7 separate regions of the Homo sapiens genome follow, and all the other regions are linked to region 1. The links are contacts of gene promoters, found by promoter capture Hi-C in blood cells and fetal thymus (Javierre and others, 2016). All regions are on one chromosome and are shown on one strand. The core of a region is centred on a gene start or on the middle of the fragment in contact, and the rest is flanking DNA. Distances in the headings are between cores, read along the strand shown.

Region 1 (4,022 bases), core at 1,249-3,748:
CCGACAGCAGTTTGTCTGTCCCGGGAAATGCCGTATGGGTCCGCAAGTGGCTCAGCAGCTCTTCGGACGTGGCGAAGCGCTTGTCGCACGGCCCGTTGGCCGACACCCAGTTGCAGATGTGGGGGAGTGGGTCGTTAGGGAGCATAAAGCCGTAGGGGTAGAGGGGGTGGCCGGCCAGGGAGGGCGGTGTGGCGCCAGCAGCCGCGGCGGCCGTTAGCGAGGAGTGCACACCGTGCAGCGGGTGCGTGGGGTACACCAGCGGGTATCCGGACTTCAGCGCCGCAGCCGCAGCAGCCGGATCATGTGCGCAAGAAGCGCTGGCGGCCGCCGCCCCTGCCAGGTGGCTAGCGCAGTGGTAGCTGAGGCAGTAAGGGTCCCGGCACAAACTGGCTGTCATCACGGACGGCGGAGACGCTCCGGCCAAAGGGCTGGAGCCGGCCGGCTTACTGCAGCCCAGAGACCCGGCCGCGGCCGCCGCCAGCTGCGCCCCCACCAGGCTGCCCGGCTTGGTGGGGTCAAGTGCCACGCCGTGTGGCAGGAACTGGGGCGGGTAGCCGGCGTAGGCCCCGGCCAGGCTGCCTGGGTAGGTCATACCCGCGGGAGGCAGAGGGAACACTGTCTGGCCCGGCTTGTAGGGTGACACGGGAGCCACCAGCCCAGAGCCCAACACTGAGGAGGAGGTGGGCGCGCTGGGGCCGGAGCCGGAGCTGGAGCCCGATGAACCGCCGCAGTCCGAGCCCAGAGCCTTGCCTCCCGGGCCCCCATCCGGATGCTGGTTCACATCCACATTAATCCCGCCGCCGCAGCTAATCCGGCCGTGTGCCAGCCCCGTGGGTCCCCCTTCGGCCGAGGCGCCCCCGGTGCCCTTGCCACCGCCGCCCACGTCGGTGTCTTTCTTGTCGTCCTTGCCCTCCGGGGCACCCCCGGCCGAGGACAGCATACCTCCCGGCGAGCAGGCCGAGGCGCTGGAGCTCGGGCTGCCTGTCCTGGGCGTGAATGGCTGGCAGGTGGCGCTCGGTACCCGGAATCCCGACTTCTCCGACGAAACACCCCCGCCGCCGCCCCCGCCACCGCCACCGCCTCCACCGCCGCCTCCCGGCTCCTTCTTATCCGAGCCGGGTTTGGAGTACGGCTTGAAACTCGACTTGTCCTCCACGCCGATGTCGCTCAGCTTCAGGGGGCCCGATTTGGTGTCCTTGTCGCCCGCAGCACCGCCGCCGGCACCGCCCGCGCCGCCCCCGTTGGAGGCAACCGAGGAGAGTTTGGAGGAGGGCGAGGGGTCGGGCTTCCCGATCTGCGAACATGTTTGCGCCAACAGCGCCAGCGGGCTCTTCTTGGCATCGAGCTGCGGGGTCAGACGATGGGGGGGGAGCGTCACACAGAGAAAGAAGTGGAAACCCTTTAGAATCCTGGCTTCTGGGGTTCAAATGCCTCTCCGCAACAGCCCACGAAGATCCTCCCAGCCCCAAGGCGCAATTCTAGGCGGCACCCCCTCTTCAACACCCACTCACAAACATTCTCGCCGTTGGGAAAGGCAGCAGATTGCTCCCCCCGCCCAACCACCACCCCCAGCAGCATCTTTCCTGCCCTCTCTGAGCGCTAACTAGATTTTTAAAGAGCAAAATGTTTTGGTTTTCGGTTCCTAGACCCAGAACTGTACCCCCTCCCCACAAACACTCCTTAATTCTTCAGAGTAAGGGCTCGGGCGGCTGGCGCCTCAGAGGCTGTGTGCACACACTGGCTTCTGCGGATACGAAGGACGGCGACTTTGGAACCGTATTTCAGACCTCCGCCTGCCTTCGGTGCCGAGTGAAGGGGCCTGGGTCGGGGTAGGGGCTTTCATATCGAAAGGAGAAACAAGTATTGGCAGCCTTGCTCCCTAGCATGCACGCCCCATTCCACTTCCTCCCCCTTTTCCGCCCTAGTTTTGAGGTACGGAAGCAGTAGCCTCTTCCCCCATTCGGGAGCTGAATCACTCCGACCCCCCCACCTCCGCCCAGATCCCGAGAAAAAGAAAGCCCTAGGGTGGCAGCCAGGGTAGTGGTCCCAGTGCGATCCAGAGAGAGGGTCCTTACCTCGATGGGGCTGACCGGCGTGGAAGGCAGGGGCTGCAGGTACTCGGGGTGCAAAATGTGGCCAGTTCGTGCCGTCAGCATCTTCAGCACCTTGATTGGCAGGCGGTTGGCCTGGCGCAGGGGGTCAGAGGGGGGCACGGCGTGCACAAAAGGCTTGGTGCTGCCGGCCGGGGACGAGCCTGGGCCGGGGCCGGAGCTATTTCCAGAGAGCGCGCTGGTCCAGGCAGGGTCTGCACCGCCGCCTCCGCCTCCGCCGCCGCCGCCGCCGCTGTGCTTACTGCTTCTTAGGGCAGAAAGCGAGGGCGCTGTGCTCATGACCCACCCGCGCGCATGGGAGCAGCGGGGGGGAGGGCTCCGGGAGGCGCGGGGCGGGCTCGGGGCTGCGCGCTCGCCCCGGGAGCAGGAGCAGCGGGAGGAGGAGGAGCTGGCGCGGCGGCCACGGGCGCCCAGCGCGCCTTCTCGGCGCCTGGAGCCAGACGCGAGTAATCCTGGGTGGCCCGCAGCGGAGCCGTGGCCGGGCTAGAGGAGCCGGCTGGACTGCGGGAGTGCCGGGCGGCTCGCGGTGTCCGCCTCGGGCTGCTCCCCTGCGCTGCGTTCTCGCGGCCCCGCGCCGGCGCTGCGCTCTGCGATGCGAGCCGCTGCGTGTCCAGCCGGGGCTCTGGCGAGGAAACTCACTTCAAAAGCAGCTGCACCAAGGGGGAGATTAAAGCCTTTGCCGCCTTCCAATCAAATGGGAGCCCGAGGTGATTGGAGGGTCAAGGGGATGTGACGCGTCCCGCGCCGCCGCCGCCGCCGCTGCCAGGACTCTCAGTGCCGGTTTTAATGGGCAGCTCCCTCTTCGCCGCCCCCCTGTGTGTCCCCTCCCTCGATTTCGCTGGGAGGACGAGATGGACATTTATTCTACGTTTGCCATCCGCCGCCTCCCTCTTTTTTCCTCCTCGTCGTTCTTCCTTTCCCCAGCTCGAAAATAAACTGAAACCTTCTTTTGAAGGGGGGTGCGCGTGAGGAACAGACTGCGGGGGGTGTCCAGAAGGAGCACCGGTGGGAGTGTGGACACCGGCCGGACTGTCAACTCCAGGGGCGAAGGGAACCTGCACACCCAGTGTTTTTTCCTTCGCAGTAATCGAGATCCCGCGCGGCGCAGCGCAGCCACCAGGGTAAGAAGGCAAGGTGGGGAGCCGGAGCTGGAAGAAGCCCGCCCGCCCGCTCTAATTTCCTCAGATTCCGCGGCGGAGAAACCAGAAGCTAGATGGGCAGTCGCAGCGGCGGCGGCTCAACACCGCGAGGAGCGCTGGGCTCTCCGCCCTTCCCGGCCACGTGACGCCCGGGGACGCGTAGATTGGGGCAGCAGCGGGGGTCACATGTTTCCTCTGTTTCACCCTCAGTCTGTCCCCCAACCCCCCATTCTTACTCTCCCACCCTGTTTTCCTCCCTCCCCCCCTTCTTTGGGCATCTCCACCCCTCCATCAATTGTCAATGTTCCTCGACCGCAATCAATCAGTTATTTGTCAGCTCTTGTCAATCCTCCCGTGATTTATGTCAGCTTTTGTTGCTGATTACAAGGCGGGTGCGACTTGAAGGGAAAAAGAGAGAGGGAGAGAGAGACGGAGAGGAAGGAGGAGATTGAGAGGGAACTGGAGGAGGGGAAAAGAGGAGCGGCCTCCTGGGATGGGGGTGGGGTGGGGGCTCTAAGAAAAAGAATGAAAGAGGCGCACGGTGTCAGGAAAATGAATAGCGAGAGTAAAGTGCGCAGGTGCGCCCAGGGCGCCGAGAGGGGCGCGCAGGCCTGGAGTGTGCGCCTGCCCTCTCGGTGTCGGAGAGACGCCCTTCCACCTCTGGGAGCCTCGGTCTGTTGGGGTCGCGGAGTTCGGGCGCGGCTCCGGGTACCCGAGACCAGCGGCGGCAACTTCTAACACGGGAGATTTCCCGCCACCCCACCCCGCCGCC
Region 2 (4,181 bases), core at 1,296-3,795, 540 kb after region 1:
AATTATGTCCTAAAGATCCTTGGAGAGATGTTCTCCAGGGGAGAAAAGGCATATCTGCTCTGTGATTTTGGGGGGCTGGCTTCCTGTTCATTTTTAATGTGAAGATCTGCTAAAGGTCTGTGCTCATCTTGTTTGGATACACAGTCTCCTTCCTGGGAATCTTCCCTGAGTTCTCACTGGGTTGCATTTTGGACCCATGGGAAAGAGAGAGTGTTGATAAAACCTAGAGAGGTCACATTCCACTTTGTTACTTCCTAGGAGTTCGCAGCTTTTCTCTCCTCCATTACCTTTGGCTGTGAGTGTGCAGTCAGTACTCTCAGAGGTCATTCCTCAGGCCAGATCCGGACTTTGGGCTGGGGTGAACTAGGTAGGTATTTGGCTCTCAGGCTTCCTAGTCCCCATCCTCTGTACAGCATCAACCTTGTGCACACTGCCCAGCCAAATGGCTTTGGCTGGGAGAAGAGCCTTCCCTGGGGGACTTCAAAGCATGTATTTGGTCTTTGATATGACACTGTGACATGTTTGTACCAACACACGTGCCTTTAGCAGAAGAAAGATAACATCAGACCCCCCAAATCTGGCAGAGGGTGAGCAAGAGTTTGGATGAAGAGAACTATGCACCTTCTGGGACTAAAATGGGAGAGGGCACATTTTCAGGATTCCACGACCCAGTCATTAATTAGGTGATGAATTCAACAGATATTTATTGAGTACCTAACTTAATTCTGGATACACAGTTGAGTAAGATGGAGTTTACATTCTAGTAGTGGGAGGTAGCGATGGTGATGGAATATAAACAAAATAGGGGCAATTTCTGATGTAAACTGAAAAATACAGAAGGCATTATTGGGGCAGTAAGCGGCTGGGGGTGGGAAGGGCGTGTTGATAACCAGGTGGACTGAAAGGCCTTTGTTCTCCTCATACTACACACCTGGCATCTGGAGCCACCTGTCCCCTCATGCATCTGTGCCCAGTCTTCTTTCTGGTGGTTGCTCTCACACTGTTCTGAGGACAGCTGAAGTGCCCTGGACCCCATGTGTCTGTTCATTTTCCAAGGCTCAGGTAAAAAGCCGTGCCTTCCACGAAGCCATTCTGGTTTCCACCAACTAAAAGTGAGAGTTTGCACCCTGAGTTCCTGTGTAACCTCCTATCTCTGTTCCACATTGGCACTTGGCACTTTCTGTCTTGTGTTAGAGTAGCTTTGCGTCCCATCTCATCGCCACTCCTTGCCTGTGAGTTCCTTAAGTACAGGAACTATGTACCTATAATATCTTATCCCTGATATACTCAGCAGTGTCTTGTGCTTAGTAGGTGCTTCATAAATATTCATTAAATAAAATAATTACAGAGAAAAGCTAGGGAAATTTATGGGGTGTGTGTGTGTGTGCGCGCGCGTGTGTGTGTGTTGAGGGGGTGTTTGAAATAGTCTGGGGTTTGATCTAATACATAGAAATGCTTCCATGAAATAGAAATGCCTTACAGTTGTGTGTAGCTATTTCACTGAGTGGGTTTGTTATATCTGAATGGACTAGTGATGTCTGCCTGCCTCTCTGGGTAACAAACACATTTTGGAGGGATTGTTAACTTGAAGGTTGTAATAAAATCTTTACCACTCTGAACAGCTAGCATTGGTGTCTGCTAAGGGGGAACAAAGGCAAAACGTAGTTCTGTTGGTGAAAATAGTTTGACTGTGTTTAAAAACTAATCATTCTGCAAATATCAACAAGCTCAGCAGATGCAAGCTAGCCACCTTATAGTTTAAATGGAGCCCTTCACGCTGTATTGGAAATGCCGCCGCCTCCAGCCCACCCTATACTCCACAGGCCAGCTCCTGCTCTTCTGGCCAAGGAAAGGCGAGTAAGCAAGTCTATTGCCCGTTGGCCTCCTGAGACACCTCTGAGGATTAAATAACTAATGACTGTAAAGTGCTCTGTGAAAAGAGAGTGCTCTATAAAGTGTTATTGTTGGGGCTGTTAAAAATGGAAAACGACTTTTAATTTAGAAAGAGAACACTCAGCATAAGGAGGGGTGGCTATAAAGCTTTTATCACCACTTTGCTTTCGGAGGCTTCTTAGCTGTTGGTGTTGGCGCCATGGTTTGCTTGCCCAGGGGTTCTGTCACCGTTCATGGGGTTTAGGAAAGATGCCAGCATCTCACTGGCATGGTGCCATCCTGATCCCCTTCCTGCATTGTAACCTCGTGGGCAGATCTGCGACTTGATTGGCTTGGGTTGCCTAACATTGATTAGAATTTCCTAAGAGCGAGCCACCTGGAATGTAGAGTATCCTGTGATCTGGTAGCTTCAGGAAGCCCCCAAAGCAGCCATGCAGACCACAAACCACTTGTAAAGATTGGGGACTGATGACAATCATGCCATGTGGACAGTATCCAGGCCCTCCTTCCATCTCTTGAGGAATAGGACTCAGCTCCTCTTTCTGTTCAATGAGGATATTGAGTTTTTATCCTAAATTCAGAATTTCACCAACTCCTTCTAGGCTCCTTGTTCATGTCCTACTCTCTCCATGTCACATTTATGTGGTTGGGAGGTTTAAAATATAGTGTTATACCTCTGCAGTCTGTATTATTATTTTACATATTATACATTTTGTGTGGATTTGTAATCACAGCGTGTAGGGTTTGCTTGGGCAGGTTCTCATTTCTAACATGTCATCCTGCCAGTGGGATGGAGGCTCTCTGGTCTTCTTCTTCTTTGGCTCCTCTGACTCCAAACACTTCAACACCTACCCTTCCTCAGCGACGTGCAGCCCCTTCAAGAAGAGAGCCCATAAACTCAGTGTTTATCATACAAATGTGGTGATGTGTTTGCATTTTTATGACCCAGCTAAGTGGTGAGTATTCATTTGTGCCACCTCACCCCAGATGCCCATCCAGAGGCTGAGCTGTTTATCATGCTCATCTCTTTCCCAAAGCCTGAACAAGGAGCTTGGGACCACTATAAACATGTTCCCTTTCAATAAAGAGGAAATTATTATCATATATTTTGGTAATAACCAATAACATTTCAAATTACTTACATTTATGGCTTATAATCAAGCTTATGCTTAACCTCTAATCCTCATGAAGCTGGTGATGATGGGCTCGGTAGTTAACCACTTGCGGGAAGTTAAGGGCAGGTAGAAATCCACCTGACCAGTAATTAACCAGAGAAGCAACCCATTTCTGCAGTTGAGATTATAAACACTGTGCTTGGTTTATGTTTAATTGGCAACAAGTGAGGTGAACCCCATTAGTTTTGCAGTGATGCCCTGGAGGATTTGGCCTGGTCAACTTCTCATCAATTAATGTGCTGATGAGGGATGCTGGTTGCTGCACACTGGGTCTTTGGGTTCCTGGTCTTTGTTTCTTTAGCTGAGCATTTGAGGAGATTGCTTGGAACATAGTTCATGGCTGGCAATTGAAGGATCACAGAGACATTGCTCTCTCTGTAACTATGTGTTCTGATTGCGGTTTTCAGTAGTCTTTTGTTTGAAGTCCTATCATCCATGAGTCTGGATTTGTGTGGGATATGAACTACTGTGATGCTACAAGTCATGTACTTAGATTGGCTTTTGAGTTGACCATTCATTTGGAGAGGCTTATATAAAGAAATGGGCCACTTTGTGGTCAGGCCATTTTTGTCTCCGAGTAGGTTAGGAACAGGGATCCAAGGGAGTCTGGTTCCAGGATGGATGTTTCTTAACTGTTAGATGAAGTTAAAGGGTTCTAAATTGGATGGCTTAGCAAAAGCACCCACTGATGTTTTCAGCAAAAAAAAAAAAAAAAGGACTATGAGATAGAATCTTCCAGAGTCCACTCTTGTTTCACTGCTTTGAGGATTATACCTTTAAGCACATTTTAACTTCTAAATCATCCCACCAGGAATCTCCTATGACACTCATGGAGGAGCTTTATAAACAACTTAGTCATCCCAACAACCTGTGATGAAAGTACTATTCTCCCACCATTTTACAGATGAGAAAACAGAAGCTCAGAGAGCTTCAGTGATTTGTCCTAGGCAAAACATCTAAAAGGTACACAGCCAGAAATAATTAGTTTTGTCTAATATCAAAACTCATGCTCTTAACTGCTGTACTTTATTCTTACTTTTATGTCATTAGAAAGAAAAATGTCCCAAGCAAGTGGAATTATCATGGATTTCCTCTCTGTTATAGAACCAAGAA
Region 3 (4,137 bases), core at 882-3,381, 520 kb after region 1:
GTGGCTTTTGAGAAATGGTTCAGTTTGCTCTGGGGCCTTCTGATGCTTCTCTGACACGTCCGAGTAGGCAGCATTTTTTTTTAAACCCTTGATTTTCAGAAACGCATTGTCCCTGAGTTATTAATAATTATCTCTCTCTCCTCTCTACTCTTTCTTTCTCTCACTCTGAAAATCAACATCAACTTGACTAAATCCCTTGAGTTGAGCTTAGTCCAGTTTTTCAGTTTTCTTCTGCAGCTGAACACTCAATGCTTGATTCTCCTGGGGGTTGGGTTTAGGGCCCTCCCTATGTTCCCAGTCTCTAGGCCTAGTAAGTACATTGTTTTGGAAAGCCTCTTCCCTTTCAGTGCTGGCTCCCTAGAGACCTTCAAAACATCTTGGGTCAGAAAGTGCAATCCAAGCAAGCCTAGATGGTACACCACCCCCACCCAAAAGATCCGGATTTGAGATTACCCCCAGGACTTTTCCTGTTGATGGCACATTTGACTTACAGTATAGTAATGTGTAGTGCTTTTTCTCTATGAGCACTTCATAAGCATCCTTCGGTGATCATGACTTAGAAATGATTGGAGAACCTGCTTGTTCAGAAGGCCAGATGTTTCACAAGAAAATGAAGGACAGAGGTCTCCCAGTCAGCAATATTAGTAGTCTTGGGATAATAGCATTGGCAGGAGTCTAAAAGTTTGTCTGATACCAACTCCTTGCTATAACTTATCCAATCCAGCCCTCTCTATGCGCTTTACAGATAAGGAAGCCAAAGTATATAGAGGAAAATTCCCAAGGATAGTCACATAGCTGATTGTTATGGCAGAGCTGCGTTATCCTTAGCATTGTACCACATTCCTCCTTCTTCTCTGGCTCTCAGATTTTCTAGCACAAAGAGCAAAAACAAAAACAACCCCAAAGACTAGAAAATGAAACACAGCTCAGCCTGGGTTTTATAATGCCAGTCATAGGAGGTGCTCAATAAATGCTTATGACTTGCTGCACCCCCAGGAAGTACTGCCTCTTCTTTATGTGCATAGCTTCGCGCAGTTGCAGGCATGATTCCAGCCTCTGGAGATGTCTGATAGGGTGTGCGGATGGGCCATGTTGTTCCACTAGAGTAATTTCCTAGAGAGAGGAGAGAAGGGAGCTCTCATTTTGTATGTGGTCTGTCTAATGCCTCTCACATCCAATAACTTTAAAACCAATCAAATTAATAATGTAGGGAGAAACAAATGGATTCACTCTTTAGATATTTAAACAGGGATATTTCTGCCACTGACATGTAAATCTTTAATAGGATATGAGATTTGGCAATAAGAAAAAATGCCAAGTTGCTGGAGACCTGGTTCTTTTGTACTATTTTAGGTCCAATCATTACCTCCTGACATTACCTTCCTCAAATAGGTTTATTTGTTGAGGCCCTACTTTGTATTGGGTAGTGTGTATTTAATACTGGGATGTAAAGTAGTGGAATATATGGTACTTACCCTCACAGGACTTCCACTCTGCTGATGACAGACATATATGTGTAGAAAGATGAATACAAATACAGATCAGTAAGTGCAGAATGTCAGCCTAGTTCTGTATGTAATCACTGCTGCAGATATTCATGGGAGGAATGGATGATGTGTAGGGCTAATTAGCCTTCAAATAGGGAAGCTCATGCTGTGAAATATTTTCACCTGGTCAAAGGATGAGGGGCTGAATCTTGACTCCCATAGGAGACAAAGGATCTGGAGAGATTTTCAGATAGTCACTGAAGATTTCCAGTTGAAGTAGAAAAAAGCTTTGTGTTTGTGTCTGTGTGCATGCATGTGTGCATGTGGGCATATGTGCATGCAAGCTTATCTACATGGTTGTATAGACATTTCTGTCTTTTAGATTCCAAAGTGACTTCCTGGAGTGATAGTGAGGCTCCTCAAAACTTGGTTTAAAACCAACCTGAAGCATTCTTTATTTTCAAGATCTAAAATTTCTAGAAGCTCTTGTTGTGAGGAAGTTTTCATAAAACCATATTTACATATCCCCTTCCTCCTTCTGATCCTTCCTGGCATTTAATATTGATAAACTTCCTATTCCCTTGCCCACCTCTATTTTCTGTCATCTGGACTTATTAATGTGTCTTAACAGTAAACTCTTGCATCCTCCAATTGTTCTCCTCTTCCTTCCCCCCAACATTGGCCTCCTTTTACTTTTTATCTCTTTCGTTTTCTTCCACTATAGTGAGTTAGAAGAACCAAATGTAAACTTGTAGCAAGTCTTTCTTCTGGGTTGATATCTGTTTCCTGCCCATCCTGGTGGCCAGACTTCCCAACAATGGGGGAAAGTCATGGCGTCTGTTTCATTCCTTCCATGCTCCATCAAGAAGACCGCTTTTTAGGATCAATTTCCTCCCTTTCTGGAAAATTGCTCACTATTTAGAAAGAAGAAGTGTTCCTACTCTGAAGCTTTCAATTGTTGCCACCTTAATGGTCTCTCTCATTATTCCCAGGCATGACAGCATGAGTTTTGGTTTGGTTTGCCTTCCTTGACATATCAGAATGGTTGAGATGACCTTGCTTGATGGACCATGGGCATAAAGGAACTGGTTGGTTGAGTGTCAAGACCAGGAAAAAGTATGGATCTGTCCTTGTTGGGAGCCCTCTTGTCTACTTGCTTGGTTCTTATTAGCCAGTTTGGAGGTTGCCTTCTGCCATCTTCCTTTCATCTGTGTGGTTCATCATGAATCCTGGCCTAGCTTCTCCTCCTTACCTTATGCTTACCCTTTGATGCAGAGTTCCAACATTAATGTCTGCCTTTCCAACTTCCACATATTACACTGCCCTCTACTTCCCACTGTGGGCATAACTCACTGACTGCAGGACTGTTTCTCCAGAATGTGGATGAGACCTCAGAATCCTTCTCAGCAATGTCCTGAGGGTAGACACCAGCTGATCAGTTTTATCATGAAAATTGAAACCTATCTTCTCTCCCTGGATCTTACCAAAGTACTCATTTTCATCTTCAGCCTAGATGTCTTGCTAGACTTTTTTCTTCCCTATTCTTTCCATCTATTTCCTATACTTTGTTCTTCATCTATTATTGGTGGTGATGGTGATATCCATATTTATCACACTCTTACAGTGTGCCAGAATATAAAGGCTACAGGTATCATCTCATTTAGACTTTAAAGTCACTCTAAGGGATACTGATACTATTTTACAAATGGGGGCCCAGAGAGGTTAAGTGACTTTCCTAAGGTCACATAATTCATCAGTGTCTGAGCTGAACCTGAAACACACTCTGCCCTTTTCTCCCTGCCTCTGCACTACCTTTTACTTCCTTAGTACCTCATTACATCTTCCATAGTCACTGAATTTTATTCTTTGTCATTGCGGCTTATTTAAATACTGACTGTATTGGAAAAATTAAAATTATGGTATCCTTAATAAAATAACATTGAAGAGGGTATAGATGTCTGCACTGGGAATATTCTTTGTGTGTGAAACAAAAATTCAACTTGTTATAGTCAATGAAGTCAATGGTTCAGTTAATAATGCCTCTAATGGCATAATTCTGCTCAGTGCCGGTGATGGGTACCCTCAAAATCAGAGACTAGATTTAATGACAGGACATGTAGAAATCAGCGCTGTCATAAAAACAGCCGGGAGAGGAACTCCATAGGAGAGGAAAACCCCTAGAAATGGCTTGACGTTATTGGTTCCAGTCTCATAAATCTCAGTCTCCGATCCTTCCCGTGATTCCCCCTTTCCATCCAGCTGCACCTAAGTGTTCCCCCTTTGCAGTGAATGCTTGCATTTCCCAGTGAGTTTCCTGTGCTTAGAGATTTGTTTTTAGATCAATGCCATTTTTTATGTGTTGCTCATGCATGGAAGAGCTCTACTTTCTCTGCTTGTTCTAAATAGGAGAAAATAATTTTAAAGACTCCTTTTAAGGTGTCTTAAGACTCCTCTGTGTGTGACACCCTTCAGAGGAATGACCTTCCATTTTAGGGATTCCCTTTTTTGCACCCCTCCCTTACCCCCTTGCATTGGAGTAAGTCTCTTGAGACTCACTACGGCCTAGGACCAGGATGTAGGCCAAGTGGAAACACACCAAAGTGATTTAATAGAAAAGGTAATTCCTATTCAAACGGGATAGTCCCTTATT
Region 4 (3,761 bases), core at 962-3,461, 910 kb after region 1:
ATGCCACCTGTCCAACACTGAGAAGCCCTGTTTGCAGGGGTTGGGGTATGGGGTAGAGAGCTCCCATCAGAGGACAGTGCAGAGGCTGACTTAGCCTGGGAAGATGTGGACTTATTGTTATCCTCCACCCTTGGAGGCCAGGGAATGCTATTTGTTCAATATTTTAAGTTCATTTAATTTACCATTTAGTATTTATCGAGAAGATACTATGGGCCACCCAGGTGGAGTAGGGCGCTGCCCTCAAGGAGCAAAGTGTCTAGTAGGGGGACAACTCAGGCAAAGCATGTTGGGAGGGAGTTAGGAAGGAAGACTAGGCTTTGCAAAGATCTCCAGCAGGATGGGGCACAGTGCCCTGCGGGAGCAGGAGAACACCACGTGATGACTCTCAGGGTGAGGAGTGAAGGCAAAAGAGAGGCTGAGAAGGCAGGGGCTGGGGCAGAGGGCCTTCTAGGAAATGGATGGTGCTCTTTGCTTACCCCAAGAGCAAGGTGAATCACTACGTTTTTAAGCAGAGAGGCCCCAGTTTCCTTGTGAATCTTCGTGGAGTCCTTTGAGCTCTGTAACCATCTGGGTTACAGGTCTTCTTTGTGTGTCTCACTACCATGCCTTACCCTTCTGTAATCTGTCTGTGCAAGTGCACTTGCAGGATAAACCCAGGAGCTGGAGAAAGCAGAGGAGTTTCTGTGGCCGTGTTTACCTTTCAAAACCTAGGAATCCTGGATATGGAATAAGAGAAAAGAGGGCTTGTAGCATGTGTGGGCCCTTTCTTGGGCCCTTTCTATCTTATAATTGGTACAAAAGACAGTAGATGGTAGAACGGAGTCAGGAAAAATGTTGGAAAATGTTTTAATGGATGAAAACTCATTTGGAAAGTAACCTCAAAACATCTTTTTTCTTTTTCTTTTCTCCCTCCCTTCCTCTTTCTTTCTTTCATGGTCAGGACATTGGACTGTCCTGAGCAAAACATATACCTAGAATGGGATCTCCCACCCAGGGTAGGTTCATGCATACTTTGTCAGTGACTGAGTCCCTCTAGACCACAATGTGTTTGAGAGTTGAAGACTAAGATGGGCACAGGGTAGTGTTTCTTTAGAAAATAAACTTAAATTTTGCATTTCCTTTGGCTTCAGGGAGAATAAGGCTGCTAGAATGGTTAGAAATATTGCACAGGACATCAGACTTACTGATTATGATACTTGATTAGTCATTTTTCTTGTAGTAATCATATATTTGGGTCTGGAATCTCTCAAGGAAATAGCTTCACACATATGTATACGTTTAGATGAATGAAACTTTTGATGTTAACAGTTATTGATAGTATAAAGCAAATAAAAAAGGCCTCTTTCAAGAACGGCTCTGTGAATAATTTACAGAAAATTTTGAAAAAAGAAAATAAAGGAGAAAAGATTTTTGGGGGTTATTTCTCAAATGACTTTCCATCTATTAAACTATTTTCCACCATTTCCCTTGGCTCCAATCTACTATATTAACTATATTTTATAATAAACACATTAGTATTGTGAAAATTAATATTTAATAATGTAGAGTCCTTATCTAGAAAAGTTAAGTTCTTATCTAGAAAGGTACACAGGCTGAGGATTAGTATTAACTTTACAAAGAAAGATTGGGTTTGGAACTCAGAGTTTTTTTATATCCTTATCCTCTCCTCTGCAATCAACACATACACACATACTTTTGCATACTGCAGCCCTTTTGGAATTCCAAATGTTAGCATCCAAGCTTCATGGTTCTTCTTCAGATTTTAGCTATCCTGATATAGACACTGAGAGCATGTGGGCTCTAGCCCAGAAGAGTTTTAGCAGCCTAGCAGAGCATTTGTACATATCCCCCTTTGGTTGCTATAGTGGGTGCTGTTGAATTGCTAAGCAGAGAATCCTGCCTACTTTCTTTGGGTCTCTTGGGGGAAATGAAACTCAAGTGTAGCAGCTAGTCCTAAGTCTGTAGGTCTTCAGTTCCACATCCTAAGTCACACATGACACGGGGCATGGATCTTCAGGGGCTTACCTAAGCTGTCCAGGACACATTGTCCTCATCCTCAACACAATGAACCTGGAGGCTTGGATATATTCAAGGCAAACATCCTTGGCATCTCTTTTAGAAATAGGCCTGAAAGATAAAGAGGGCCGAGTGATAGAGTAATGGGGAAATGCTTTTGGAAAATGAGAGATGCACATTAGAATTAATTTTCCCATACCTTTGAGGTTTGCATATGTCAAAATTAAAACTTTTTAGACTGTTGTTCCCAGAGGACTTCCTCGTGCTACTCTTTTGTACTGGTCACATATTCTCTTGTGGTATTATCTGTTTAATGTGTGGACAAAATGTGTATGATGTCTCATTCCCAGAATTGATACCAGTAGTTGCTTGACACATGCTAATTAGTAATTAAATATACTGTATTACTCCTCACTTAAACAGAACATACCACACTGAGTTTAACTTTATCCTGTTGACATATATATGTGTGGAGGAGTGGAGGAAGCCTGGGGTGTCATCATTTCAGAGGTCTGTTGCAGCATCTTGTGGTTCAGCTCTTAGTCTAGCTTTTTGTGGTTGTTTCTTTTTCCATGTCATACTGTGACCCCAGCAGCTACCCTTGCCCACCCCTCATGTTGCTCTATTTAGATGCCTGTGGCTGTTTTTAATCTTCTGTGGGATACCAAAGCTTAGAAGAATAAAATTGTATGATAAACCTGCCTGATGTCAACTAAGATCCTGAAAGGTATAAACTTTATGATATCTGCAAGACCTCGTGGGGAGGGTTTTCTGGAGGTGGAGGCCTTTTGTTGATGTTGATGTCAGGATTGAGCCACTGCATAATGAGTTCAGTTTGGCCTAAAGATAATGATGAGATGTTTTGAATGTCTGGGATGCAGTGAGGGGCTCCTGAAGACTTACACAGGAGGTCGTCTGCTTTCGAAGGGGAATTTGCCCTTTTGGCCTCTTTGGTGTCCACTACACTGTATTCTGGGATAGACCTAACTCTGTGGAACCACCATGTGACCACCCTTAATCAATAGTGGTCTGATGGGGCCAGCTGCTCTCTCAGCACTAGGAGTGGCACAGGAGCCAGGCTCAATCAGGTAGAGGGTTCTTTCTCATGGGTGAGGAGATTCTTTCCAGGATAGGCACATAACCCAAAGCAGGCCACGGATTCCCAGATTTTGTTGGAACTTACAGGAAAGAGAAACTCTTTCTTTTGTCTTTGAAGATGGTGAGGTACAGATGTGGGGGGCTCCTGGGAGGCCACCACGTGGAGAAACCAAGAAACAAAGCTGAGATAGAAATTTCTGATGAGAAGTTTGAACACCTGGATCTAACCGTATATGAAACCATATACCTTGAGCTCATTAAAGCCCCCTGCTCCTCTTTTTAAACTTAAAGCACTTTGAGGTGGATTTCATGACTTACCATCAAAAGGATAATCTTATTTTCCTGAACTGTTCAACAAGGGAGATTCTACAACTTACCCTGGAAATGTAGCAAGTGGTCCCCATAGAGTCATTTTGGTCAAGAATTCTTAATTGTGTGTGACTTAAATTTCATTTTCTGACAGTCTCTCTGTAATGTAAATAACAAACCAACCCTACTTGCCCTCTCCCCAAATCAAAAAATCCTCAAACCCAGGAACAAAATTTTGATTAGTCTACTCCTTCCAAAGACACCTTCATCTACTTGAACATCAATTTTCAATGGTCCCTTCAACCTTCTCTTTAAATACTGTCTTTATTATGCAACTT
Region 5 (4,026 bases), core at 62-2,561, 600 kb after region 1:
TTTAATGAAACATTTATTAATCTTAGTTTTGCAATTTTTATTTCACATTTTAGAGCCATTTATTTTCAGATATCAAACATTTCATTGGCCTTTAATGAGTTTAGAGGAGAGCCCTTGACGCTATGCTTGTAGCTCCTCATGGATGAAAGGCCCTGAAAACAGACCTCTTTGCAGCTACCCACCCAAAACCAAATTGTATACTGCAACATTTGCTGCCCTTGGAGAACCCCAAATGGGCTTGTTGGAAAACCTCTTCTAAAATCCCTGGGACTGGCCTGAGTGTCATGGAAGTGACCCTGAGGGCTCAAGAAGAACTGCCGTTTCTACTTGCCATGGTGTCTTACTCAGCTTGGGCTGCCATAAAAAAATACTGCAGACCAGGTGGCTTAAACACAGACATTTGTTTCTCACAGTTCTGGAGTCTGGAAGTCCAAGATCAAGAGCCAGCTCTGTTTCTGGTGAAGACTTTTCCCAGCTTGCAGATGGCTGCTTTTTTGCTGGGTCCTCACACCCTCACATGGTAGAGACAGCACACCCTGTTCACTCTTCTTCTGAGGGCACCAGTCCCATGATGAGGGTCTCACCCATGTGACCTCATCTAACCCCAATTCTCTCCAAATACTGCAACTTCAAATACTACTTATACAAAGGTTCCACTTCAAACTACTGTCACATTGAGGGCTAGGGATTCAATATATGAATTTGAGGAGGTTGCGGGGTGGGGCACAAACCTTCACTCCCTAACATACAGTGTGGTGGAAACACCCAGGCCTCAGAGTCTGTGGCTGTGGGTTTCACATCCCAGGCCCACCACTTTTAGCAGTGGTTAGCCTCCGAACTTCAGTTCCTACATCTGTAAAATGGGGATGGTAATCAATCTGTAGGGTTGCTATTTGCATTAGAAGTAATGTTTATAAAGGGTCCAGCACCCAGTAGGTACCTCTTCTCATTGTAATTTACCCAGTCATGTGAGGGCATCTTTAATGAAATGAAACAGCAGCTGTTATGTGTGGAGTTACAACAAAGAGACACACACACAGAGCAGGGAGACAGGCCAGGAGCATGTCTGGAGGCAAGAAAACAGGTAAGGTCCTTGGCATTGAGGCAAGGAGGGGCTCCTACAAAAAAAGTTTTTTTCCTACATTTCTGGGAAGTCTCAGGCTTTCAGGGAACTCCTCAGGTTGTGCCAGACTGCAAAGAGTGGGCTGAGAGGCCCAGCCTTCTGGGCCTGGGGATGATTCAGGAATGAAAGATCCCCAAGTTGGGAAGACTCAGCTTGAGGGTTTTTCACCAGAAAACAATCTGCAGTTTATTTATTTATTTATTTTTGCCATTTCCAGAATGGAAAACACAAACGGAAATGATGAGTTTTATAAATATAGGAGTTTTGTGCCTGGGATGGAGGTGGGGCGTTGGTATTTATGTGCAAATAGCCCTAGATTCTGCAGATTACCAGTATCTGGGGAAGGAACAAATGCCCAGCATTTAGAAAGCCATCAGAACAGGGAGCGCCACCCCTGGCTGCGAGAATTGGTGGGCAGTGATATGGCAACCCTCTTTCCTGAGTACTCCACCATTAGACGGGATTGGTGGGTGGAAAATCAGAGGCCATGAGTAGTCTCCCAAATCCTTCCACTTGAGTCAGCCTGCAGCCAATTAACCTTCCTGACCGACTCAAGGCAAGCCTAGACCACAGTGGAAGGAACGTCCCCTGGCCCACCCTCTCTCTCTACCATCCTCTCTCCCTTCCTTCTGCCACTCAAGTGAGTGCTCAGTGTGTATCAGGCACTATCCTAGGTGCTTGCATTAAATCCATGGGCAAAATGGAAAAATTTATAATAGACATTAAACAATAAATATGTCTCATAAAGACGTTACACGTTGGAGGGCAAAAAATGCTATGGAAAAAAGAAAAAGAGAGCAGGTAATAAAATTAGTAGTCCCGGGTGGAAGTGGCAGGACAGGTTGCAGTATTGAACAGGGTGGTCAGGAGAGGCAGCATTAGGAAGGTGAGATGAGTAAATGGCAGGTAAGTCAGTTGAGGGTGTTGAAGGACAAAAAGATTATAAAATGAACTGTCTCTGAGCTCATAGTGTCTGATAGGGGGAGGAAGAAGCCAGTCAACATTGGAATGCCTGGAATATCATTTCTTCCTAACAAATCTGAGCAATGTGGCTTAGGGAGATGAAGAATACCTGTGCCTGCCAGTCCTTAATCTTATGTGGCTCATGGTACCGCTAGGCAGTGCTTGGTATCAGATGGAGATTGGGACCTGGGTATAAAGCCAGAGTTCTCTAGCCCAGGTGGGGTTTTTGGGTTTCTAATGGCTCAAAACGTTTGTTGGATGAATGACATGAGTGGTTAAATGAAAAACTGAGTGAATAAATTCATCAATGAGCAAATGAATGAACAATGAATGAATAAAGACTGATTAAAATTCTTATCTGTATTAAGAATAGATAATTTACAAGTTCACACCATAAGTTACTAGTTGCACATTTAGCTTCAGTAGTAATTTTTAAGGTGCTTTGCTATATTTAAAATATATAGGCATTTACACCATTGAGTAAATTTTCAAATGTAGTGAAAAATTATCCAATTTTAAATATGTTTAGGTATTATGGTATAGTCCGAACTTAGATTTTCACTTATAGCTGTAATCAAAGTAGACCATATTTTCTGAACCAGCAGATGACTTTGCCTCCTATGTAGAGTGAGAGCAGACTGCTTGATAAGCTTGTGAATCACAGTTTCTTGCTTATGGATAATTGCTGCTCTTAGTCTTGAGACATGACATAGAGATTGACGCAGAGTAAACTGCTGGTCTGCTGGTTACTAAACTTTGCATATTTTCAGAAAGACCTGGGGAAACTTACAGAAAGAGCGGCAGACAGTGTCAGGCAGGCCACAGACTGGCCACCCCCAGGTCTACTTTATCAGAAGTTTCAGGTATGGTCTCCAATGTCTGCAGTTTAAAATTGTTTCTCAGGTGATTTTGTTGTCGATAGTGTAGGGGATTAAGGAACCACTGCACCAAAGCCAACTTTGAGAGCAGGAGGTATGTCCTTTTCTTTTAATTTTTTTTTTTTTTTTTTTGAGACGGAGTCTCACTCTGTGGCCCAGGCTAGAGTGCAGTGGCGTGATCTTGGCTCACTGCAAGCTCCGCCTCCCAGGTTCATGCCATTCTCCTGCTTCAGCCTCCCGAGTAGCTGGGACTACAGGCGCCTGCCACCACACCTGGTTAATTTTTTGTATTTTTAGTAGAGGCAGGGTTTCACCTTGTTAGCCAGGATGGTCTCGATCTCCTGACCTTGTGATCCACCCACCTCGGCCTCCCAAAGTGCTGGGATTACAGGTGTGAGCCACCATGCCTGGCCTTAAAATTTTTACTTTATTAGTGTCTATCAATAAATGGATAAGTGTAAATCCTAATTGCAGGAAGCCAAATGAGACAGATTTATCCCCCTCCAACAAGGTAGCATTTCAGTCTTCTTTCTTTCTCTGTCTCTCTTTTTCTTATTTTGTTTATCTTCTCCCTAAACATAGGACTTCTCTGTATGTATTACTGTACTATGTGCTTTCTCTTTACAATTCTGATACATTATGCATGTCTTTCAATACATATTAAAGCTACATGATATTCCAGAATGTGGAAGTGATCCATCCTTTCAACTTGTTGAAATTCATTGATTTACTCAAGTGCTTCCCTCATAGAAAAATGTTGATAAACCTTTGCTGACTGAATAAATGAAGAGAACATAGCTATCTTGTACCATCCACCCCACGTCAGTTTCCCATAGGAAGTTTGGGGTTAAAATCAAGCCAGTTTCCTTGGCACATGTAGTTCCAGCTACTTGTGAGGCTGAGACGGGAGGAGCACTTGAGCCCAGGAGTTTGAGGCTGCAGTGAGCTATGATTGTGCCACTGCACTCCAGCCTGGGTAACAGAGTCCTATCTCTAAAAATAAATAAGTAAATACCTAAAAAAAATAAATAAATGGGCCAGGCGCGGTGGCTCACACCTGAA
Region 6 (4,202 bases), core at 1,545-4,044, 690 kb after region 1:
CTAAACATAGCCATCTTTTCTAGTGATCCTGGCTTCCTCCCCGCTCTCCCTCACACTCACACCCCCATCCTCTTCCTCATGAAGGATTTCACCTGCAGATAGCCTCTATAGACAGAGGAATATTTGACAAAACACAAGCATCTGCCCCAGCAGCTGTTCCCAGCAATGGGGATCAGTCACCAACTCCTCCCACCTCCTCCTTCTCATGCTTCACTCTTCTGCACCACCCCCCGCCCAATTTTATAGTCTTCTCAAGTTTAAAGACTTCCCTTGACATGCATAAAACCAAATTTCTCTTCTGGGGACCAGTGAACACATATTCTGATTTTTTTCTAGTTCCTCGCCTTACCCCATTCTCAGGAAAGCCCAGTTACTTCGTGAGTTCAGAGCACTTCCTTGCTGGGGCGCCTGCTAAGTGGGGTGAGTTTAACTGGAGCACCCCTCCCAACTTTTGGGAAAGAGTTCACTCTCACCAACCCATACTTTCTGCCTTTCCTTCTCTGGGATTGTCTTACCTCTGGAAATCCTTCAGGGACTTCTAGGGAATGGCTATGTCAATGGGGCTGGTAAAAAGCAGCTGTGGGCTGGTAAATGTCAGAAGCTGTTTGCAAGGCTGGGAAAATTCACTGTTTATTTCTTCAAACAAGCCCTAGTTTCCTCCACTGAGAATGTTCTTCATCAAACTCATCATTCAGGTTTGTATTCAGAGCAGTTTAGCTTAGGCATGCAATTGTCAGTCAACACTCGTAAGTAAGTGGCCAAGTTTAAAGTTACTCTTTGAATATTTCTATACACTCTATTCAGTAAGTGTTCACCAAGTCCCTTCTCTGTGGCTACCACACAGCTAAATACTCATGTGTATATGTGTGGGAGAGAGAGCGTTTTACTCTCGTGGAGGGGCCCGAATGAAAAAGGCATCACCGTGGAAGAACTTGAGCTTTCAGTCCTGATAGGTCATGGATATAAATGGATGGCAGCTGCTAGCACAGTGATTTATGAGTGATGCTCCCAGCCAAAGGAAGTCAGGCACATTCTAGAACTGCAGACCGCTGTGTACAGGGCATCTCAGTATATTTAGCAAAATGAGATTGCAAACCACAGAAAAAAGGGCTGAGTGGGTGGAGAGGAAGAACATTCTCTGGCCAGAAACTTGCTGAACTTTGAGGCCAGGGACCGGAGGCTTTGCAGAGGTGGGGAGAGACGTTCTTTGGCTTGTCCGACAGAAATAAATCACCACTGAGGAGATATACCAAAGGCCAATTATATGGAGTGTTTTCTTGGAAAATCATCTCCCAGACAGGCCCTGTAAATCATCCCCAGCATTGGCAGACATTCAGATCTGCCTGGTGGGGCGGGTGGCATGCCAGTGCACCCCAGTGTCAGGTAGAGGAATTACACAGGGGTAGTCTCGTTGTAGCAGGGAAAACAGAGGTCAGGTACTAGCTGTCTTCATCCGAGGAAGCAGTGTAGGGCAGAACTGTTTGTTCTGTCCTAGGAATTGTAGGGCCAAGGCTTTTGACCAGGTTTTGCCACTTACTTGTTCTGCGACTTTCAGATTCTCTACAAACAGAGTGGGGACTGGGTTATCTCTGAGGTTCCTAGAAGCCCTGACATTAATTTTATGCCTTTGTGTTCTCTATAACTTCTGCATAGCGTAAGCTTTTGCATACCACACCCTATGCTGGTAATTATCCCAAGAGAGACAAAAATTTCCATCTACCCAGCAAGGTTAGTCATACAGGATCATCTTGGGAGGGTGATTGGGGTCCCTCAAAGCCAGGTCCTCAGTGTAGCTGTAGAGAGAGATGGGAATTTAGCCTGGAGAATGAAGAGCTAAGGGGGATGCCAGAGGTACTGTGTTCAATATTGGAAGGGCTTCATGTGGAAGAGGGATCCGTGTCTGTTGTCCTACTCTGTAGGCCAAAAACAGGACCAATGAACTGCAAATAGAGGGGCCCAAAAGGAAGGAAAAGATAAACCAGCAATCATTATTCCATTGCTCAGTGACACAAACTTTGATTTCCTCAGTGTTTGAAAATATAGCAAGAACTCTTAACTGGCCAAATGTGGTGGCTCACACCTGTTATACCAGCACTTTGGGAGGCTAGAGTGGAAGGATTGCTTGAGCCTGGGAGTTCAAGACCAGCCTGGGCAACATGCAGACCCTGTCTCTACAAAACAAACAAACAAAAAATTATCTGGACAAGGTGTACCTATAGTCCCAGCTACTTGGGAGGCTCAGGTGGGAGTATCACTTGAACCCGGGAGGTTGAGGCTACAGTGAGCCGTGATTATACCACTGCACTCCAGCCTGGGTGACAGCAAGACACACAAAGTCTCACAGACACACAAAAAGAACTCTAACCATCAGAACTATCCAACAGTGGCACCTAAACCTGGCAGAGCGGAAAGTGATCCATCACTGCTGTAATCTAGCCGAGGCTGGGTGACAGTCATGGTCACAGCAGAGAGGACAGGATGCTCCTTTCTGCTCTATCTGTAACCATCTTCTGTCCCTGGAATGAGCTGAGTGAGGAATGCTCTCCCTCCTCTCCTCAAAGTATCTTCCTTGTCCCAGCAAAGCTTCATTCTTCCTATTGAGGAGGGGTTCATTTATCTCTAGGAGAGTTATCTTAAAATTTGTCTACTTTTTGGAGAAAATATATATTGAGACTTTGAGGGTGGGAATTTAATTGGTTGCCAATAAACAGGAAGGCCCCAAGGGAAAGAAATGAGAATTAGAAACTGACTCACAATATCTGGATGGGAAGCCAGGCAGGAGGGAAACTCAGGCTCTCGAAAGGGAAATCTGTTGGGCACCCAGCTTACTTCTTAATTACCTTTTTTGTTAATGGCCAGCCCATTCCTTATGGGTTTGTTGTTGGTGGGTTTACTTAAACCTTTTTGAAATATATTGGTTATTTTAGCTTGTACTGATTCTGGAGGCAATGAATCCACAAAGTTAATAAAATAATTCTTCCATCATCTTAAAATTATTTCTTCATTCAAGCTTCAAGATTTCCTTCTTCTTCCCATATTCTAGAATGAACAATTGTTTTTTCTTTATTTATCTTCTTTGTGATTCTATTGATTCTGTTGGGATCCCTTCTCAGTCTTTGACTTTCTTTCTAGACAAAGCCCTCCTAATTGTTCTCATTAGTTTGAGTATGACAATTCTGTCCGTGTGATTAATTCAACACACACCTAACATTTATTAAGTTCCTACTCTATGGAAGTCGTTGAGCGAGACACTGAGGCTAGAGGTGAAAAAGACACTTTTCTTGCCATTCTTTATACAGGATTGTAGCAGAACCAAATTAGTTGTAATGAATAGAGTGCTATGATACATGATGCAAACACTGGCCATTGTTCATGAGGTCACTTTCATCTACCTCCTGTGACAGATGAAATCACTGAGACTCTGAGAATTTCAGTGAATCACTCAAGTTCCTACAGCTGGTAAATGGCAGAGCTGGGGTCTGAATCCAGGGCTGTCTGACTCCAAAGCCTGCATCCTTTCCACTGTGCAACACTTCCCTTTGTTTGATTGTCGATGGAAATACAGAGAAACATGTGACTTAAGAATGAGTTGGGGAACTTAATTGCACTGGTGAAAAATGAAGACATTTTATAATAAAACACATAGGAAGATGAAGTAGAAAGTTTACCAGTGTCCTGGGATCCTCCGCAACCACTTTGAGGAGAATCTGAGCTCTTGGTATGCAGGCTTGGAATCATGGCTCTGTCTGGCGTTGGACATAAAATGGTAGACTTGATGCAGACTCCAGCTCAGTCATCCTTGTCTGTTATGCTTGGAGGCGACAGCTCTGCATGAACCCATTAACTCAGAGAGATTTCGGCAGAGCCTTTCCCTTCCCTGACCACTGGGCACGAGTGCACCACTCTGCTCTGAGCTGATCAGCTTTCCATATGCACGGAACAACCACAGCCTCCCTCCCCATCTTTCATCACCTAAATAAGGGCAGTTAATGTTTAAGAGTAGAGAATAGGGAACATAATGATGGATAAATTATAAGTTTGGGGATATGAAAAGTCAAACTGTGTAAATATGTATTTTAAACCACAAACAGAATGTTAATGCATCTTTCCCATTAACTCACTAACTGAAATTACAGAGTGTAACGTGAGCCAACGCCCACGGGTTGGTTATGATGTTTTCAGATTTAGAACAGCAAATGATA
Region 7 (4,050 bases), core at 1,086-3,585, 620 kb after region 1:
TACTTTATGTTAAAAGTCAAAGAAAAGTGGAGGTGAGGATACTAATCTTAAGATATTTGGATATTAGAAGAGATCTTAGAGACCTTTTAAGGTCACTTGGAAGCAGAAGAAGCACTGAAATCTCATTAACAGTGGTCGTCTGTTTATGCCCTTGTTTCACGAGATTTGGGGCTTTTGGAGGACAGGATTGTACTCCTAGTGCCTGGCAGAGTGTCTAATCCATAGGAGGCCTCAAATTAAAGTTAGTCAAAAGATGGAGCCAGTCACCTGCTCTAACCCCACATTTTGCATACGGAAGAAACAAAGGTCCACCAGTGATTGACTCATGGGCACAGCTAGAGTTTTTCTTAGGCCTCAACGGCAGCTCTTTTCTTCCATCTGCCTGTCTAATTGCTGCTCTTGGCCTTATGATGTTTTCACAAGCAACGTGTTATTCTAATGGAGACTATCTTGATCTTGTCAATTGAGTGAAGGCAAACACAAATGTAGGGCCAAGGCACCATATCAGGGAGTAAATACAGAAGTGGGCAATTAGCCTCAGGGCCCAGAGTGCAAGGATGTGCAGATCTGGCTGCCTGGCAGAGAGCACCTAGCATGGTAGGAGTCCTTAGACCAGAATAATCTTCCTTACTTTGCTAGGAAAGCCTTCCCCACCAGGCCTCACTGCTCCACCAGCTCCATGTGGGCTGGGAGGAAACCTATTTTATTCATCCTAGGCCTGGCTAGGGGATGCTCAATAAATATTTGCTGTAGGGGGAATAAATAAATGAATGAAGGATCCAGTCTGTGATTGTTAGGGTACCTTTCTATTCAACCAGGCTGTTTAATTTCCGTATCTCAAGCATCTCTGTCTGGACAATGGACAATGCTGGGCACCTATAAACTTTTTGATGACTTATAGAGGTAATAAAATCAAACTTTCTTCTTCTGCTTACTTGACTAGTGCGATGAATTAACCAATGGTTAATGTCTACTCTCGGTATATGTAATTCTCAGCCTTTCTGATCTCTTCAAATTACTGTCTTCTTCCTTCTGCCATCTTCTTTTTTTTTTTTTAAGAATTAATTTTATTAAAACCAGTCAAATTAAAGCTGCCTCTGTCCAGGGCATCTCAAGATCCATCCATTATGGCTTCTTATCTTGGCAGGCGATCGGCTTGGAAAGGCAGCTCAGCCATTATGCACATACAAAGCCCATCACTTCACAACCAATGGTCAATTCATCAAACATTTATCTTTTGCCCTCTGAGCGTGTGACGCTTTGCCTCTCATTTCCTAGTTTGGGTTGCTCTGAAAGATGAAGAAAAGCAGGCGGGAGTTCTTTTCTCCCCTAACTTTCCCCTTCCCCCAGATCGTTTTTATTAATCAGATTTCATACTTGAGGCTTGAAACATGCCCTGCTCTCTTTTTTTGGCCATCTGAGGGTTAGGGATAGTCTGCCAGTCTCATGCTGAACTTTTTACTGAATGGTGGAACAATTAAGGCAATGATAAAACTTTGCGAGTTTTCATCTTGCAACCCACTTTGGTGCATGGGATGTTTAAAAATGAAGAGACCTCCAAAATAATCTAGCCTAGCCGCCTTAGTTTACAAAACAGTACAGTGAGGCCCACAGGAGGCAAGGGTTTGACTGAAATACTGCAGCAAGGTGCTAACCAAGGCAGGACCTGGATCAGGTTCCTTGGTTGTTCCTAAGACAGAGGCTCTCCCGAGCTGTCATCTCCCCATGCATTCAAATGATTCTGAAACATATCACTATTTCTTCTGGAGGTTTAGCCACTGACCTGCTTCATTTTCTGAGGCAACTAATTTCTTCCTTTGAAAAGAAAATATGCACATTTATTTTTCAAAAACAATCTTTCAGCTAAACAACAATTGGTCTAGGTTTGTCTTCATGTACTGTATCTCAGCTGATCCCCATTCTGATATCTGCAAATTGGACAGGTCAGGGATTTTCTGCCACCTTGAAAGATTAGAAAGCTACATTTTCCAAGTGTTATTTTTCCAAAGTCTTAGCTCACAAAACCAGGACTTGAAAACAGAGCTCATGACTCAATGGAGTGGTCTTATGCTGTGTGTTTACCAACTAGATTTGCGTTTGGCCTCATTGAGTTGACAAGATATTCCTCATCAGAACAACACATTCCCTATGAAAACACCACACTGGCTTCCTGCTGCCATGAGCAGCAGTCAGATAACCAGAGAGGCAGACACAGAGGAAATAGCCTTGGTTCAGTGCTGGGAAAAACTCTTTTTCTCTATGCTGCACAACTGGAAACAGTTGATCTCGTCTCTGTCCCTAACATTGTTAGGTGCTAGTACACAGGGCCCAGGACATGCCATGAGAGGATCTGGAAAGCAAAGCTCACCAAATTATTCTTTGAGAGGTTTTGTGAACCATAGAGCTAGAGCTATTCTGGAAGAAAGAAAATGGCTCCGGTAGCAAGCCACTTTTGGAGGTCACCATATCTCCTGGGGCCTTCTTTCCTGCTGGAGACATAAAGCTATCTTGTAGTCTGGGACAGAAAACGTGTTTTCACCTTTTTCAGCCAATTAAGACCTCACAGAATCAACAGTTGGCACGTTTTTACTGGCTTTCCTGGCCTGAGTCCATTCCAGGGGGGCCCTGCCCGTGGGGAGCTGGTCTTTGGGCAAGTATTTGATTAGGGGCCCTTGGGGTCCCTGGGGCTTTGAGATCCAGCCGTGTAAATGTCTCCTTTTCTGGTTGGCTTGCAATGAGTAGACACCATCTGTTGAATTAAAAATTCCCTTTATGGAGGGTGGTGAAAGGCTTGTGTAGAAGAGACACTGTTATCTTTCAAGCAAACAGTTCATGAGGTTGAAGAGCAGCGTTCTTGGCCCAACATATGTTTGCCCAATGGCTGTGGGCGCCTCCCCCACCAGGCTCTGCATTCCGCCCCATGGCGAGGTGCACGCATACCATGGCTGCGGTACACCGTGTCCACTCTCACATCTCCCTAGCAAAGAAAACCCCCATTTATAGAACCCGCCAAACAAACTCACTCTTTAGACTCTTAAAAACAAACAAGATCCCGAGGCCACAGGCTCCATGCGTGCATGTGTGGTTTTGTAAAATCTCAAGCCGTGAATCAAAATAATTTCAGAGACATAGTCAAAGCCCAGGCCAAACCCTGTCACCAGGGTGGGAAAAAGACAGGAAAGATTCGCTTTGAGGAGGGAGGATAGCCCAGAGAAGGAGAATGATGGGAGCAAAACATGGAGGCTGTCCTTCATCTAGTATGTTCCTGGAGAGACACCTGCTCCTTGTCTCTGTCCTTAGGGACTTGCTATAATACCTTCAGGACAAGCATAGGAGGGATGGGCCAAAAACAGAAAGGGCTTACTACAGCCCTCATTGCTTTCCTCTCAACTTCCAGAGCTCATCTTATCCATGCTGCTTACTGATACGCTGTCCTGTATGGTGTCCCCTTATTCCAAGCCCAGCGTCTCTGTCTCCTTCATAGATGGTAAGAGCATTGAGAGCAGATTCCATGACTTGTGCATCATTTGTATCCCCAGATGCATGTGCTCACTGAATTCCTGTCATGTTGGAAATGGATACCACACCACATGCTTTTTGGTAGCAAATCAGCTTTCTGGACTGTAGCTTACTTGAGTGCCAGGATCAAGTTATCTCTTTTCCTTATGTTCCCTCACCACCAAATGTGGAATAAGGTATCAGCAGATGCTCAAAAGATTAGAATTCATTTGCATTGAGACTTAGCTCAAGCCCATCTCCTTCACCAGCCCCAGCCCCTTCTCAGAGTAGCACTAATCATCCCAATCTATTACCCTGCATTATCTGGTAACTGCTTCCCTGTCTATACCTACTACTTAATAGTAGGGGACTATTGCACAGTCATCCTTGTAGCTCCAGAGACTAGCAAAGTACTAAGCACAGAGTTGGCACTCAATACATTTTTATAAATGAATGAATGAACAAGCTATAGAGGTGTACCCCAAGGGGATCATTAGCAGATAAATCTCAAGCCAGTCCCACCTAATGCATACTTAACTTCAAAGGAAAAAA

Evidence for each region. Contacts are between HindIII fragments. The CHiCAGO score rates a contact against its expected background, and 5 or more counts as called.
Region 2: a contact is called between a fragment that was not itself captured here and the fragment with the promoter of ZNF503-AS2 in region 1, in 1 of 17 cell types (megakaryocytes). The highest score is 5.2, in megakaryocytes.
Region 3: a fragment that was not itself captured here is called in contact with the fragment with the promoter of ZNF503-AS2 in region 1 in 6 of 17 cell types (endothelial precursors, M0 macrophages, M1 macrophages and 3 more); the score reaches 9.4 in endothelial precursors.
Region 4: a fragment that was not itself captured here is called in contact with the fragment with the promoter of ZNF503-AS2 in region 1 in 8 of 17 cell types (megakaryocytes, M2 macrophages, M0 macrophages and 5 more); the score reaches 10.2 in megakaryocytes.
Region 5: a contact is called between a fragment that was not itself captured here and the fragment with the promoter of ZNF503-AS2 in region 1, in 3 of 17 cell types (megakaryocytes, M1 macrophages and endothelial precursors). The highest score is 5.9, in megakaryocytes.
Region 6: a fragment that was not itself captured here is called in contact with the fragment with the promoter of ZNF503-AS2 in region 1 in 1 of 17 cell types (megakaryocytes); the score reaches 8.0 in megakaryocytes.
Region 7: a contact is called between a fragment that was not itself captured here and the fragment with the promoter of ZNF503-AS2 in region 1, in 1 of 17 cell types (megakaryocytes). The highest score is 5.0, in megakaryocytes.

The regions. Positions count from the first base shown.
Region 1 is chr10:75,399,030-75,403,051 of GRCh38, forward strand. It overlaps ZNF503-AS2 (ZNF503 antisense RNA 2), which reads left to right and starts at 2,499. Exons shown (of 2, transcript NR_024421.1): 1 at 2,499-3,232. ZNF503 (zinc finger protein 503) reads right to left here and starts at 2,735. Exons shown (of 2, transcript NM_032772.6): 1 at 2,076-2,735; 2 at 1-1,345. The coding sequence starts at 2,390. RefSeq lists an enhancer at 1,737-2,237. The HindIII fragment of the contact is 15,649 bases long and covers 1-4,022 here.
Region 2 is chr10:75,939,398-75,943,578 of GRCh38, forward strand. All of the region lies in intron 2 of LRMDA (leucine rich melanocyte differentiation associated), which reads left to right. Among named protein-coding and RNA genes, the nearest start is that of MIR606, 390 kb to the left of the region's middle. The HindIII fragment of the contact is 1,015 bases long and covers 2,039-3,053 here.
Region 3 is chr10:75,919,822-75,923,958 of GRCh38, forward strand. The region is part of intron 2 of LRMDA (leucine rich melanocyte differentiation associated); the gene reads left to right. Among named protein-coding and RNA genes, the nearest start is that of MIR606, 370 kb to the left of the region's middle. The HindIII fragment of the contact is 604 bases long and covers 1,830-2,433 here.
Region 4 is chr10:76,304,503-76,308,263 of GRCh38, forward strand. All of the region lies in intron 5 of LRMDA (leucine rich melanocyte differentiation associated), which reads left to right. LOC112268057 (a long non-coding RNA gene) reads right to left here. Exons shown (of 3, transcript XR_002957050.2): 3 at 2,044-2,127. It overlaps LOC124902462 (a long non-coding RNA gene), which reads right to left and starts at 514. Exons shown (of 3, transcript XR_007062203.1): 1 at 477-514. The HindIII fragment of the contact is 946 bases long and covers 1,739-2,684 here.
Region 5 is chr10:76,001,650-76,005,675 of GRCh38, forward strand. The region is part of intron 2 of LRMDA (leucine rich melanocyte differentiation associated); the gene reads left to right. Among named protein-coding and RNA genes, the nearest start is that of MIR606, 450 kb to the left of the region's middle. The HindIII fragment of the contact is 2,845 bases long and covers 1-2,734 here.
Region 6 is chr10:76,085,782-76,089,983 of GRCh38, forward strand. The region is part of intron 5 of LRMDA (leucine rich melanocyte differentiation associated); the gene reads left to right. Among named protein-coding and RNA genes, the nearest start is that of MIR606, 540 kb to the left of the region's middle. The HindIII fragment of the contact is 427 bases long and covers 2,582-3,008 here.
Region 7 is chr10:76,022,030-76,026,079 of GRCh38, forward strand. All of the region lies in intron 2 of LRMDA (leucine rich melanocyte differentiation associated), which reads left to right. Among named protein-coding and RNA genes, the nearest start is that of MIR606, 470 kb to the left of the region's middle. The HindIII fragment of the contact is 5,916 bases long and covers 1-4,050 here.